3 separate regions of the Homo sapiens genome follow, and all the other regions are linked to region 1. The links are contacts of gene promoters, found by promoter capture Hi-C in blood cells and fetal thymus (Javierre and others, 2016). All regions are on one chromosome and are shown on one strand. Each heading gives the region's core, a stretch centred on a gene start or on the middle of the fragment in contact. The rest is flanking DNA. Distances are from core to core; before and after follow the strand shown. Region 1 holds the start of PPBP (pro-platelet basic protein). Region 2 has its middle 30 kb from the start of CXCL8. Region 3 overlaps LOC105377277 (a long non-coding RNA gene).

Region 1 (5,008 bases), core at 1,307-3,806:
TCTGCTCCCCTCATTTTGTGTCCTGCTGAGCTTATCTCTGCAATTAACTCCACATCTCAACTCTCAGAAGACTCCGAACTCTCAGCTTACACCCTTCCTTTAAGCTTGCTTAAGACTAGAAATTTCTATGTTGTGACAGGGAGAAAAATCATTCCAATTAAATATGCTCTACTGCTAAACTCTAATTTAAAGAAAACAATAAATGAGGTGGAGAAAAATAAGAAATACATTCATCAACTGAAACTAAGGCTAGTGAGGCAGAAATAATTTTATACATGTTTATTGAAAGCCAACTGGGAAGACAGACCTGGGAAGACACATCCACAAAGTTGGGGGTGTTCTAGAGTCTTTCACAAGTTACAAGGGCTTTATATAATAGAAAAGCTTAAAATAAGGCAGAAAAACTCCTCATACCAGAGTTGTCTTCTTTTTCATTGGAGGGTACAATACCGAAGTTAAAATCATTAGCTACAGATTACAGCATACAGGCTAAATGTCTACATACAAAACAATCAATAAAACTTTTTGTTTCAGCTAAACTTAGAAATAAATCATTGTCCTATTTAGTGTCAGTAGGTTCTACAGTAATTAGTACATCAATCATTTGAGGAACTCGTAATAAAATACTTTACTCAGAGATAGAATGTCACCATCAAGTCACGAAACCTTTCCAGGGCGAGTTAATTTGGAAGTCTGCTTACTTCTAAAGTAAACTGTCAAATGTGGTCTGTAGGTTATCGCATTTAAAAACAGGACCTGAGAACTTGAGTAGACATAGTAGATAACTATTAAACAATAGGGAAAATTGGCTTGAAAACAAAAACATGATTTAAAAAATTACTATATTCATCTTTTTGATAGAGAGTAATTTTGAACATTTAGTATTTTAAGCATTTCTTCTAAAATTTAAGGATATGAAAAGTAAGAAAAGAATATGGAAAATTTAAATAATATTCTGTGAGACTTATACATAGTTGTAAAAGGAAGAAAACTTGTTGCCAGTGCCACTTACATCTGCCTCTTCTTTATTGACAATCTTCCAAATAAATTTAAATAGCATAGTTGCTTTGGGTCCTGTCGAGTTTGGCCTGGAATTGTAGGTGATTAGAAAGGATAGGGAAGCTTTCATGTGATACGTATTCATTGATTTATTAATTATTTAAGACCTACTTTATATTGAAGTATCCTACATGTTATAGGATACATGAGACATTCAAACAAACACAGGACATGCCACTCCCTACAAAAGTGCATGGTTCAATTGAGGAAGGAAGTCTTACAGATGGGACAGAGAACCAGAAAATAACATAAAGCCAACATGTAATGTGTAGGTCCACCTCTCTATCTTTGTAGGGATATAGCATTTCAGACCAAAACCTTTAATTTGGGTCTGAGAATTCAGGAACAAATATTTTCCTTGGTAAGGACATTTCTTGCACAATTTCTAATAGTGCAAAATTGGAAACACCGTGAAGGGCACCAACAAGGCAAGGTTGAGTAACTATTGTTCTTATCACAGGACGTCACATGGTCATTAAGAAGAATGGGGGAAAACTACATTAAGATGACCTGAAAAGATAAGGAACACATATTTTTTGAAGGATAAAAGTCAGCTGTATAGTGATCCATATACAATACTTCTATGTATATGTGTACCTCTATGTCTTAAACGTGTCTCATTGTATACATATACATGTGTGCATATAAGTGCAGACAGAATTGAAAACTAATGCAAAATTGTTACCAGTGTTTACCACTGAATAGTAGGAATGTGGAGAAATGATGAAGAGAAATTTGTGTTTTATTTCAAAGACATCTGCAGCATACGAATCTTTTGCAATAAATTATATAATTTTTCTGTTAAATTAAAAATAAAAAGAAAAATAAATATGCTGGGTCCTACTTTTTAGGTATTCTTAGGTGGTAGAAACAAGTAGCTTCTTTTGTAATATAAAGGAGGATGAGTTTCATTTGTAGTTTCTAGATGAAATTACAAAAGATAATATAGATTGAAGGCAGAAAGAATCCAATAAGCTAAAATCCAAAGACAACCTTTGACGGTAATTGGCTCTTATTTTACTTACATGCTCCAAACCAATCCCAATATTTATCAACATTCATGAAAAGAACATTTGCTTTCTTTGGCAAGCAAAGATAACTTTCTCTTTCAAGGGCCACATGTTTGTGCCTTCAGGTGCTCCTAAAGTTTCTATTAAGCCTAAAAACTGCAGTATAGAAAAGGCAGGGCGTATTGTTATAAATCATACAAAGAAAATGCATGTAGTATTTCAGTCTAGTTCTTACCTTCCTGAACGGAGTTCTTACACAGGTGTAAGGAAGATAAGTATTGAGAAAGGGAGAGTGGGAATGTGAAGTGATGCACATTAAGCAAGTTAGTAGGAATTTGACCTGTCTGGTCTTTCTCTGGGTTGGGCACAGCTTCAAATGCTTATGTGTGTATCACCACATACCCTCACTTCCTCCTTTCCTACCTCTTCCTTCTTACTGGCTTTGAGAAAGAGCATATAAATGACATCTTCAGGGCATGAGAAGCCACTTATCTGCAGACTTGTAGGCAGCAACTCACCCTCACTCAGAGGTCTTCTGGTTCTGGAAACAACTCTAGCTCAGCCTTCTCCACCATGAGCCTCAGACTTGATACCACCCCTTCCTGTAACAGTGCGAGACCACTTCATGCCTTGCAGGTGCTGCTGCTTCTGTCATTGCTGCTGACTGCTCTGGCTTCCTCCACCAAAGGACAAACTAAGAGAAACTTGGCGAAAGGCAAAGGTAGAGGCCCTGCTTCTCTGCACTTGTTGCTGCTTCTGCTACACCTGTCTCTGGGGTAAAGACTAGCTTGGTGCCTTTGGGGCTGGAGAGGGCCATTATACCAATAACTCCAATTGGAGGAGACACACAGGGGGGTCACTTCTCACTTCTTGTGTGCTGGGCAATCTTCTGGGCACTTTACTAAAGCGTTACAGATCATATTCACAATGGCTTTATGAGAGAGGTACAATTGCCCTCAATCTGCAAATAAGAGACCTGAGGAAAATATTCATGACCACCAATAGGTCACATTTTCTACCCTAGAGGAAAGTCTAGACAGTGACTTGTATGCTGAACTCCGCTGCATGTGTATAAAGACAACCTCTGGAATTCATCCCAAAAACATCCAAAGTTTGGAAGTGATCGGGAAAGGAACCCATTGCAACCAAGTCGAAGTGATGTAAGTTGCTGTTTCTGTGCTATTGCCTTATCAGAGAAACCCTCTACCTCCATCCACATATGCACTCGTTTCCTCCAGTCTCATGGATTAGTTCTGATATTCAGATCAGGACACCCACAGATAACCCTGTTCTCTTTTGCAGAGCCACACTGAAGGATGGGAGGAAAATCTGCCTGGACCCAGATGCTCCCAGAATCAAGAAAATTGTACAGAAAAAATTGGCAGGTGATGAATCTGCTGATTAATTTGTTCTGTTTCTGCCAAACTTCTTTAACTCCCAGGAAGGGTAGAATTTTGAAACCTTGATTTTCTAGAGTTCTCATTTATTCAGGATACCTATTCTTACTGTATTAAAATTTGGATATGTGTTTCATTCTGTCTCAAAAATCACATTTTATTCTGAGAAGGTTGGTTAAAAGATGGCAGAAAGAAGATGAAAATAAATAAGCCTGGTTTCAACCCTCTAATTCTTGCCTAAACATTGGACTGTACTTTGCATTTTTTTCTTTAAAAATTTCTATTCTAACACAACTTGGTTGATTTTTCCTGGTCTACTTTATGGTTATTAGACATACTCATGGGTATTATTAGATTTCATAATGGTCAATGATAATAGGAATTACATGGAGCCCAACAGAGAATATTTGCTCAATACATTTTTGTTAATATATTTAGGAACTTAATGGAGTCTCTCAGTGTCTTAGTCCTAGGATGTCTTATTTAAAATACTCCCTGAAAGTTTATTCTGATGTTTATTTTAGCCATCAAACACTAAAATAATAAATTGGTGAATATGAATCTTATAAACTGTGGTTAGCTGGTTTAAAGTGAATATATTTGCCACTAGTAGAACAAAAATAGATGATGAAAATGAATTAACATATCTACATAGTTATAATTCTATCATTAGAATGAGCCTTATAAATAAGTACAATATAGGACTTCAACCTTACTAGACTCCTAATTCTAAATTCTACTTTTTTCATCAACAGAACTTTCATTCATTTTTTAAACCCTAAAACTTATACCCACACTATTCTTACAAAAATATTCACATGAAATAAAAATTTGCTATTGACTTGTTGTCATCTATTATTAATTTTAACAGGATTGTTGGGGAAAAAAAGCTTTAATTTTCCTCTCTTTTTTGTATACTTGGTATTTCACAGTTTGAACAACAAAAGTTACTAAATTGATGATCGGTGTCATTCTTAATGTAGTATGATAACAGTTCCAATTTATTAATCATTTTAATATGCCAGGAATACTAAGTGTTTTCCATGCATGAACTAAACAATTTTTTAAAAGATAGATATGATCTGGTTAAAAGAACATCCTCTGGAGTTTGAATAATGAGGTAACCTGGCTCTGCCACTTGTTAGCTGTGTATATCAGGTCATGTTGCTTAATTTCTCTGTACCTTAGGTTCTTCATCCCTAAAATGGGGATAATATTGCCTCCCTCATAGAGTTTATGGAAGGATTAAAAAAGTTAATAAATTTAAGGTATTTAAAATAATGTGTGTCATAAATAAGCCACACATAAATGTTAGTAATTATTTCTTATGATTATTATTATCCTCCCCAGTGTTACAGAAGAGAAAAATCAAGTTTATAGAGTTTAAAATACTTGCCCACTTTCAGATAACTAAGTAGGTAACAGAGTGGGAATTTCAAATTGTGCTCTTAACCACCACACCACAGTGCTTTCCTCAACTCTTCTTTCTCTAATGAAGAGATTACATTACATATAACATAGTATTATTCACACATGTAATAC
Region 2 (5,008 bases), core at 955-3,454, 220 kb after region 1:
TTAACATTAGACGTTAAGTGAAATGTGTATAAGTGAAGTCTGTACAATTTTTACAACTCTTCTTTAAATCTAATATTATTTTAAAATCAAAATTTAAAAAAAACAAATGCCTACAATACATTATTTTACTATTGTCATAATGAAGCAAGAATTTTTATAAGTAGATAAAAATACATAGATAACACACACTTAGGGAGGTTATATATCTTTATTTCCTGTATGTTTGGGGGCCCAGGATATTAGGAATTAAATTTACTGGGTATATATAATAATCCTTAATACAACATGAATTATCCAGAAAGACGTATCTACTTAAAATATATTTAGCATTTAGTTAGGTTTATTCCAAGTGAAAAGAGAAAATATAGACAATCTTTAATGCATTCTTAACTTTTTCTATATTCTTTCTACAACCCCAATGACCCAGACACATTAAAATTACTTAATTATTGTTTATTCCTGGATGTTAGGGAACTGAAACTTCTTTCAAGTTCTCAAAATATCTCCACATAAATGCTTGTGATATATTGCTTTGTGACTATATTAGTACAAAGTCACAAAAATAAATTCAGGAACTCAGAAAATCTATCCAAATTAACAAAGTATAGACAATTCACAGTGATATAACAATAATTTTTTAAAGCCTGCATAGAAAATTCAAGTGGAATATTTTTAGAGGATCATAAAATTTGCGATATTGTCTGAGATTCATTCTGAGGCACTCGGGTTGAAGACTTTAACATATGAATTTAGGAATAGGGGAAAAGTTTAGCCCCCAGCATAGTCCTTGTAGTAAATTGGTGCTATTTCGAAGCTTTCTAAAAATAGCATAAATTAGTAAAGTTGTACTAACTATTTATATTTCCAAAGTGGAAGACGATTTTGACAAATTAGCAATAAATACATAAGTCAGTGGGGGAAAGTTTTAAGAAACACAGTGTTTTACAACTGTTTCATGAAGAGTCACTCAAGATACCTTAATTATTATTCACTAAGTGATGTGTGTGGAACCAGTGAAGGCTCCTGAGTCAAAGGTCAGAGCTCTCCTCTCTGTGTTCCTGCCATACTGCTTTATTTTTATTTATCCTGTAAGAGCATGGACAACAATGATCCTACACCCTTGTAATACAGCACTTAGCACAGTGTTCACTGTTGGTGTTCAATAAATAGCACTTCTTTACTCTCACCAGGAGTCCCTAAGAAGAATGCATGAATTAATTTGAGGCACATTAACATCAGCTATTCAGACTGCTTCTTATCATGTGGACATGTGAGGTGGTAGAGACAATAATAGCTTGCACTACTGAATTAGATAAAACATATTTTATCAACAAAATGGTACATGCTCACCATTGTTTCTGAACATTTATTGACACACTTCTTTTTTGAGAGGAGTGGGTTCAAGATAAATTTTCTATTCTTGAAAGATAGATGATAGATAATAGATCAACATAGTTGATACATATATCTAAGATACAATATATAATATTTATTATATATCTTGTCTTCTCTATGGCCATACATCCTGAACACACCCAATCTCATCTGATCTCCAAATGTTTAAAAATTATTACATGCCATCATTTTGAGCAACATCCAGGTGATCTTACTGTGTCAAAAAGGGAAGAAAAAGAAATCATAATAAGGAACGGTGCAGACCTGGCTTCACTAAGGTGGAGATGGCCAATGCAAGGACACAGAGAAACCATCTCATGTATATGCCACAAGTAGCAAGGATTCCCAGAAAACGCATGAAGAAATAAAACTATCCTCCCTAATAGTTCTGTCAGCCTACTCATGAAAGCATGTCTTTTGGTAGTGAAGAAGAATATTTCCCTGACCCTTTCACAGGACTCACAACAGAGGTGCCTCATTTACTCAGTCAGCAGCTTTCAACTCTTGTGGGAGGGAGCACGCTATCAAATGAGGCAGGAACTGGATTGCATGAGCCCTGGAACCAGCTGGCTGCTTTGGTGCCAGCAGGAGCAAACTCCACTCACTTGCACCTGCTGTGTTCCACCCCTTTCAGGAGGGAGTGCACAGGTGAGCGAGTGCAGGAGCCAGGGCAAGCACATTTAGGCACTGGCAGGAGCAAACTCCATGTGGGCTTTGCAGCAGCATCAATGGGATGGTGCCTGTGACCCCTGAAGTCCCAGAGGACATGTTACAGTATTCTTTTAGCTCTCCCATCCACAGACAGCTAAAATGTTAATAGTTCAGTGGGACTTCTTTCTTTTCATGTGAGGTGGCTGCCTTCTGCCAGCGAGGGAAAAGGGCCAGTATGAAGCCTTTTGTATTCACACTTGTGGCTCCCAAGCTGTTGTCAGGTGTCCACGGAAAATGATGTCGCATGAATGATTTAAAGGATGGTAAATGTGGGAGATTTTATTGCCAATGAAAGTGGCTCTCAGTGGGAAAGAGAGCTGAAAAGGGGAAGTAATCTTCCCCTGAAGTCCAGCCATGTTCAGCAGGATTCTTCTCCAAAGTTACGTGGTCAAGCCATCCCTCTGAAGTCAAGCCACTTCTCTCCAATGTCTAGCTGTAGTCCCCAAGGTCCAGCTGCTTCTTCCCTCTGCTGGCTGAGTCTGGAGTCATTATAGGCACAGGATGGGGTGGGGCAGGGTCATGGGTGACTTAGGAAAAGGCAAAGTTCGCATGGGAAAACAGTTCTCACTTTGGCCATGGTCTCGGGCTTTTCAGCTTGAGGATAGGGCTTCACCAGGGACCTGCCCTTTTTTACCTAGAATTTCTCTGCCTCCTTTCCCCATCATTTCCCTTTTCAAAGCGGAACATCTCACTGCCATTAGAATACAGACAATGACCGATCTTAGCTACTTTCTGCTTACTGGGGACACTGTTTTGAAGAAAACAGTGGTCAGATTTCCCTCAGAGGTTTACCTAAGGGCCTCTGGTAAAAGGGAGCCATTGTCCGAGGCTCCAGTTACATGACCCTTTGGAATTTGATCGCCTTTAGGTGAGAAGAAACAAGTTTTACAGGGATAAGTTTGCATGGATCAAATATATGTATTATACAAAACGGGGTTAAAAGGAGATAATCTGGTGACAAAGTTTACAGAAATAAGAAGTAAAATATACTATTCCTTCTAGACACAATATTGTATCCTGCAGTATAGAACAGAATAAAGGTAAAAACAGCGAACATAGGCAAGACTATAAAGAGGATATCCATGGAAGTTTAACACTTATCTTTTGTAATTTTTAGCTTGAGGTCCCCAACCTCTTCATATTGGTACTTTGGGTACTCTTTGGGTTCATCAGCTTCCCAGGCATTTACATGGGTGTAATAAATTCAAGAATCTATTCCAGTGACCTATTGTAAAAGACAGGTGGCTGCTTTCAGGAGGTTCTCTAAAGTACTATCTGGTCCCAGGGCCTGTTTCTGCAGCTTCCTCCTGATCTCAGGGGCTGCCTGAGTAATAAATTTATCCTTTAGGATTAGTTGTCCCTTAACTGAATCAGGAAGTAGAGAGTTGTGCTTCACCAAGGCCTCTTTTAACCTTTCCAGGAGAGCAGTGGGATTCTCATCAAATACCTGGTCTATCATGGATAACTTAGAATAATTGAGAAGCTTAGTTCTAGTCCTACATAATCCCTCCATTATGCACACCTGAATGTGTCTCCTCTTCCATTCTCCCATCTTGTCAGTGAGATCCCATTTAGGGTTATCCAACGGTACTGCTTCTCTTCTAGTTGGATAAAGTTTGACCCCTTCCCTGACACTGTATGTAATAGAAAGCTCATTCCCCAAATCTCTCTGCCACTTGCAGAGTAGCCTGCTTCTCAGTGTTAGTCAGGCTTTGATTCAAAAGTAGCATAACATCTTCCCAGGAGAGTTCAAATACTTGAGTTAAGTTCTGGAAAGCCTCTATACATCTGTCAGCATCATGTGAAAACTTGCCAAGATCCCCCTTAATTGGCCTTAAGTCCTTTAGAGGGAAAGGGACCTGGATCTTACCAGGGACCAAATTCACCAGGCATCTGTTGGAGGGGCAAGAGTGGGACTGGGGCTTATCTAGGGTGAGGATTTCTAGGAGGGAGCAAACAGGAGAGATAAACTGGATAGGGAGGATGGGGTGGACCAAGAGGAGCAGGCAAGAGGGAGCTGGCTCCATTGCTAGAGGGGCCTCTGGGGTTCACCTCTTGTAGCCTTTCTGTGCATTGCAGAAAGGAAAATGATCAGATTATTTGGGGAATACTGGTCACTGGCTCTTAGCTGACATTCATTCCAGGGAACCCAAAATGCCACTGTGGTCCTCCAGTTAAAGTAGGGGCTTATGTAGGTCAGGTAATGTATGGAGTTTTAGCTAATGTCCCACTTCCAGTCAGTCCAATGGGTACCCAGACTCATCCTGTGGTTATTTCCCCAGTGCCAGAATCCATAATTCGCATAGACATACTTAGCAGCTGGTAGAATCCCCACATTGGCTCCCTGACTGGTAGGGTGAGGGTTATTATGGTGGAAAATGAAAGGCAGCTCAAATGGAAGCCATTAGAGCTGCCTCTACCTAAAAAAATAGTAAGTCAAAACAATATTGCATCCCTGAAGAGATTGCAGAGATCAGTGCCACCATGAAGGACTTGAAAGATGCAGATCCCTGTTCAACTCTCCTATTTGGCCCATACAGAAGATAGATAGATCTTGGAGAATGACAGTGGATTACTGTAATCTTAATCAAATGGTGACTTCAATTTCAGCTGCTGTACCAGATGTGGTTTCATTGCTTGAACAAATTAACACACCTCCTGGTACCTGGTATGCAATCACTGATTTGGCAAATGCCTTTTCCTCCCTTCTTGTCCACAAGGCCCAGCAGAAGCAAATTGCCTTCAGCTTGCAAATTGCCTTCAGCTGTCCTACCTCAGGGATCCATTACTCTCCAGCTTTGCATCATAATCTTGTTTGCAGATATCTTAATCCCTTTCCCTTCCACAAGATATCATACTGGTCCATTACATTGATGACATTAGGATGACTGGATCCAGTAGG
Region 3 (5,008 bases), core at 1,439-3,938, 140 kb before region 1:
TTTGCATATGTTGAACCATCCTGTATCTCTGGAATGAATTCTACTTGACAATGGTAAATGAGTATTTTGCTGAAGATTTTTACATCTGTGTTCACTGGTGATATTGGCCTCTAGCTTCTTTAAAAAAAAAATGTGTCCTTGTCTGGTTTTGGTATCACAGTAACACTGGCCTTGTAGAATGAGTTTGAAAGTATTCCCTCTCTCCTCTTTAATCGTTTTGAAGTATTTGAATAGAATTGGTATTAGTTCTTTAAATGTTTGGTAGAACTTAGCAGTGAAGTTATCAGGCCGTGAGCTTTTCTTTGATGGGAGACTTTTTATTATGGCTTTGATTTCATAACTCATTATTGGCTTATTGAGGTTTTCTATTTGTTGATGGTTCAATATTGGTAGGTTGCATGTGTCCAGGAATTTATCCATTTCTTCTATATTTTCCAATTTGTTGGCATGTAATGGTTCCTAATTGTTTCTAATGATTCTTAGTATTTCTGAGGTCTCAGTTGTCATGTGTCCATTTTTGTTCCTACTTTTATTTATTTGGGTCTTCTCTCTTTTTTTCTTATTCTGGCTAAAGATGATTTGGAGCTCCTTTATATGCTGCTTGCTTCTTTTCTCTTGCTGCCATTACAGTTTTATCTTTATGCTTGATCTTTGACAGTTTGATTAGTAAATACCTTCATTAGTCTTATTTGACTAATGTGATGCTCTAAGGCCTTCCTGTACCTGAATATTTATATCTTTCTCATGTTTTGGAAAGTATTCTCTTATTATTTCTTTGAATAAGCTTTCTACCCTTGCTCCTGCTCTGCTCTCTCTTGAACATCAATAATTTTTAGATTTTGTCTTTGAGGTAATTTTCTATATCTTGTAAGTGGCCTTCTCTCATTTTCATTCTTTTTTTCTTTTCTCTCCTCTGTTTATTTTTTAACAGCCAGTCTTTGAGCTCATTGATTCTCTTCTCTGCTTGACCTATTCTGTGGTTGAGATCCCCTGAAGAGTTTCTTAGTTCAGCAAATGTAGTTCTTAGTTACAAGATTTCTGCTTATCATTATTTCAATTTCCTTGTTAAATTTCTCTGATAAATATCTGAGTTGCTTTTCTGTGTTATCTTAGAGATAACAAAGTTTCCTTAAAACAGCTGTTTTGAATTCTTGGTCAGAGAGTTCACAAATCGCCATCTCAGGAGGGTCAGTCGCTGGAACTTTGCTTTGTCTAGAAGGTTATGGTTCCATGTTTGCTGTTGTTTCTTGTGGGTATACATCTATGTATTTGTATTAATAATTATTTAGTCCAGCTTTATCTGTCTAGTTTGGTTTGGTTTTTATTGAATACAGTTGCTTATGAATCTTAACTGCCAGCTTGCTGCCTTGTTTTCGGCTCTAGATGGCGCCATAAGCCTATGTTTACCTTGACTTTTGCAAATGGCCATGGCACTGCCTGTCCCATAAGGAGGAGGACCAAAGGGATTACCCTAGCACTGTGGGAAGGCCGGCCACGGGTGTGTTCCCAGGGGACTTGTGGAACATACTTGCTACATGATTTCTACTGATTTGGCATCTCCTTTGGTCAAGTTACAAGGAGTTTTTACGGCTGAGGATGGTAGTCCTGGCTTCCCTATTTGTCTTTGCCAGCCTTCACAGACATTTCTCCCTCCAGGCAGTCACAGTGCTACCTGTGGTTTAAGGCAAAGGCAGGTCTCCTGGCAGGAAACCGAAGAAGATGGGAAAGCTGGTTGACAATCTCAATTTCACGTTTTTCAGTGCAGAAACCATGAGTTGAGGGCAGATTTTTCATACTGCTGATGCCTGGTGTAATGCAGGGAAGAGGCCTCATGGATGTAGAATCTGGTTCTCCTACCATCTGCTCAGAATGTTTCCACTTCTCTGTACCTACAGGAACTGTCTCATCCTCATACAGGATCTCTGGGTTGCTGCTGGTGAAGATCTTGCTGCTGTGTATTTCTTTTTGGTTTCTGGTGGAGGGGAGAGAAGCAAGCTTGCTTCTATGCTGCCATTTTGGGATTAGAAAACCGATATGTGAACTTTATAACTAAGAATTCAAAATAGCAATTTTAAGGAAACTCAGTGACCTACAAGATAACATAGAAAAACAATTCAGATACTTATCAGAGAAATTTAACAAGAAAATTGAAATAATAATTTAAAAATGAAACAGAAATCTTGGAACGGAGAACCACATTTGCTGAATTGAAACACTCTTTAGAGGATCTCAATAACAGAATGGGTTAGAGAAAAGAATCAGTGAGCTCAAAGACTGGCTATTAAGAAAATACAGTCCAAAGAAAGAAAAGAAAAAAACAATAAAAAGAAATGAAGGCCACCTTTAAAATATAGAAAATTACCTCAAAAGACCAAATCTAAAAATTATTGGTGTTTAAGGGGGAGCTGAGCAAGAGCAAGGGGAGAAAAGCTTATCCTAAGAAATAATAACAGAGCACTTTCCAAAACTCATGAAAGACAGAAATATCTAGATATAGAAAGGTCAGGGAACACCAAACAGATTCAACCCAAGTAACACTAACCAAGGCATATAATAATTGAACTTTCAAATATCAAAGACAAAGAGAAGATCCAGAAAGCAGCAAAAGAGTAAAATAACAAAGCAACTCCAGTTCATCTGGCAACAGACTTCACAATGGAAACCATGTAGGCCAGAAGGAAATAGGGCAGCATTAACAAAGAGAAATTGTCTTTCACAGACAAAAGCTAAGAGAATTCACCACTACTAGACCCGTCTTGCAAGAAATGCTAAAGGGAATTCTTCAACCTGAAATTAAAAAATGCTAACATATTAGTGTACTAACTAAAAGAAAATATTTCAAGGTATAAAACCCACTGGTAAAATTAAGTATGAACACAACCCCAGAATATGCTAATAATTTAATTGTGGTGTGCAATCCAATCATAACTCTAGTAAGAAGCTTATAAAGACAAATCTATCAAAAACAATAATAGCGACAACAACCTGTTCAAAATAGATATTTTTAAAATATGCGAACTGATATAATAAAAATTCAAAGTGTTTGTGGGAGGTGTGGAGTTAAAGTGTAGAGCATTTTTTTCATTATTATTATACTTTAAGTTCTGAGATACATGTGCAGAATGTGCAGGTTTGTTACATAGGTATACATGTGCTATGGTGGTTTGCTGCACCCATCAACCCGTCATCTACATTAGGTACTTCTCCTAATGGTGTCCCTCCCTTAGCGCCCCACCCTCTGACAGGCCCTGGTGTGTGATGTTCCCCTCCCTGTGTCCATGTGTTCTCATTGTTCAACTCCCACTTATGAGTGAGAACATGTGGTGTTTGGTTTTCTGTTCTTGTGTTAGTTTGCTGAGAATGATGGTTTCTAGCTTCACCCATGTCTCTGCAAAGGATGTGAACTCATCCTTTTTTATGGCTGCATAGTATTCCATGGTGTATATGTGCCACATTTTCTTTATCCAATCTATCATTGATGGGTATTTGGGTTGGTTTGACATCTTTGCTATTGCTATAGTGCTGCAAGAAACATACCTGTGCATGTGTGATTATAGTAGAATGATTTATAATCCTTTGGGTATATATCCAGTAATGAGATTGCTGGTCAAATGGTATTTCTGGTTCTAGATCCTTGAGGAATCGCTACATTGTCTTCCATAATGGCTGAACTAATTTATTCTCCCACCAACAATATAAAAGCATCCCTATTTCTCCACTTCCTCTTCAGTATCTGTTGTTTCCTGACTTTTTAATGATTGCCATTCTAACTAGTGTGAGATGGTATCTCATTGTGGTTTTGATTTGCATTTCTCTAATGACCAGTGATAATGAGCTTTCTTTTTATATATGTTTTTTTGGCCGCATAAATGTCTTCTTTTAAGAAGTGTCTGTTCACATCCTTCACCCACTTTTTGATGGGCATGTTTGTTTGTTTTTCTTGTAAATTTGTTTAAGTTCTTTGTAGATCCTGGATATTAGCCCTTTGTCAGATGGATAGATTGCAAAATTTTTCTCTCATTCTATAGGTTGCCTGTTCACTCTGATGATAGTTTCTTTTGCTGTGCAGAAGCTCCTTAGGTTAATTAGATCCCATTTGTCAATTTTGGCTTTTGCTGCCATTGCTTTTGGTGTTTTAGTCATGAAGACTTTGCCCATGCCTGTGTCCTGAATGGTACTGCCTAGGTTTTCTTCTTGGGCATTTATAGCTTTAGGCCTTATGTTTAAGTATTTAATCCATCTTGAGTTAATTTTTGTTTAAGGTGTGAGGAAGGGGTCCAGTTTCAGTTTTCTGCATATGGCTAGCCAGTTTTCCTAACACCACTTATTAAATAAGGAATCCTTTCCCTATTGCTTATTTTTATCGTTTGTCAAAGATCAGATGGTTGTAGATGAGTGGTGTTATTTCTGAGGCCTATGTTCTGTTCCATTGGTCTGTATATCTATTTTGTTACCAGTACCATGCTGTTTTGATTACTGTGGACTTGTAATATAGTTTGAAGTCAGGTAGCATGATGCTTGCAGCATTTTTCTGTTTGTTTAGGATTGTCTGGGCTATATGGGCTCTTTTTTGTTTCCACATGAAATTTAAAGTAGCTTTTTCTAATTCTGTGAAGAAAGTCAATGGTAGCTTGATGGGATAGCATTGAATCTATAAATTACTTTGGGCAGTATGGCCTTTTTCACAATATTGATTCTTCCTATCAATGAGCATAGAATGTTTTTCCATTTGTTTGTGTCCTCTCATTTCCTTGAGCAGCGGTTTGTAGTTCTTCTTGAAGGGTCCTTCACATCCCTTGTAAGTTGTATTCCTAGGTATTTTATTCTTTTTGTAGCAATTGTGAATGGGAGTTCACTCAGGATTTAGTTCTCTGTTTGTCTATTATTGGTGTATAGGAATGCTTGTGATTTTCGCACATTGATTTTGTATCCTGAGACTTTGCTGAAGTTGCTGATAAAGCTTAAGGAGATTTTGGGCTGATATGATGGGGTTTTCTGAATATATAAT

What was found. Contacts are between HindIII fragments. The CHiCAGO score rates a contact against its expected background, and 5 or more counts as called.
Region 2: a fragment that was not itself captured here is called in contact with the fragment with the promoter of PPBP in region 1 in 1 of 17 cell types (neutrophils); the score reaches 6.1 in neutrophils.
Region 3: a contact is called between a fragment that was not itself captured here and the fragment with the promoter of PPBP in region 1, in 1 of 17 cell types (megakaryocytes). The highest score is 12.0, in megakaryocytes.

Annotation. Positions count from the first base shown.
Region 1 is chr4:73,985,738-73,990,745 of GRCh38, reverse strand. PPBP (pro-platelet basic protein) reads left to right here and starts at 2,556. Exons shown (of 3, transcript NM_002704.3): 1 at 2,556-2,790; 2 at 3,094-3,229; 3 at 3,372-4,307. The coding sequence starts at 2,643. The coding sequence ends at 3,474. RefSeq lists an enhancer at 4,877-5,008. The HindIII fragment of the contact is 3,234 bases long and covers 1,125-4,358 here.
Region 2 is chr4:73,768,061-73,773,068 of GRCh38, reverse strand. No RefSeq gene overlaps it. Among named protein-coding and RNA genes, the nearest start is that of CXCL8, 30 kb to the right of the region's middle. The HindIII fragment of the contact is 2,775 bases long and covers 817-3,591 here.
Region 3 is chr4:74,130,819-74,135,826 of GRCh38, reverse strand. The region is part of intron 1 of LOC105377277 (a long non-coding RNA gene); the gene reads left to right. It also overlaps a transcript of MTHFD2L not described here. Among named protein-coding and RNA genes, the nearest start is that of MTHFD2L, 25 kb to the left of the region's middle. The HindIII fragment of the contact is 511 bases long and covers 2,433-2,943 here.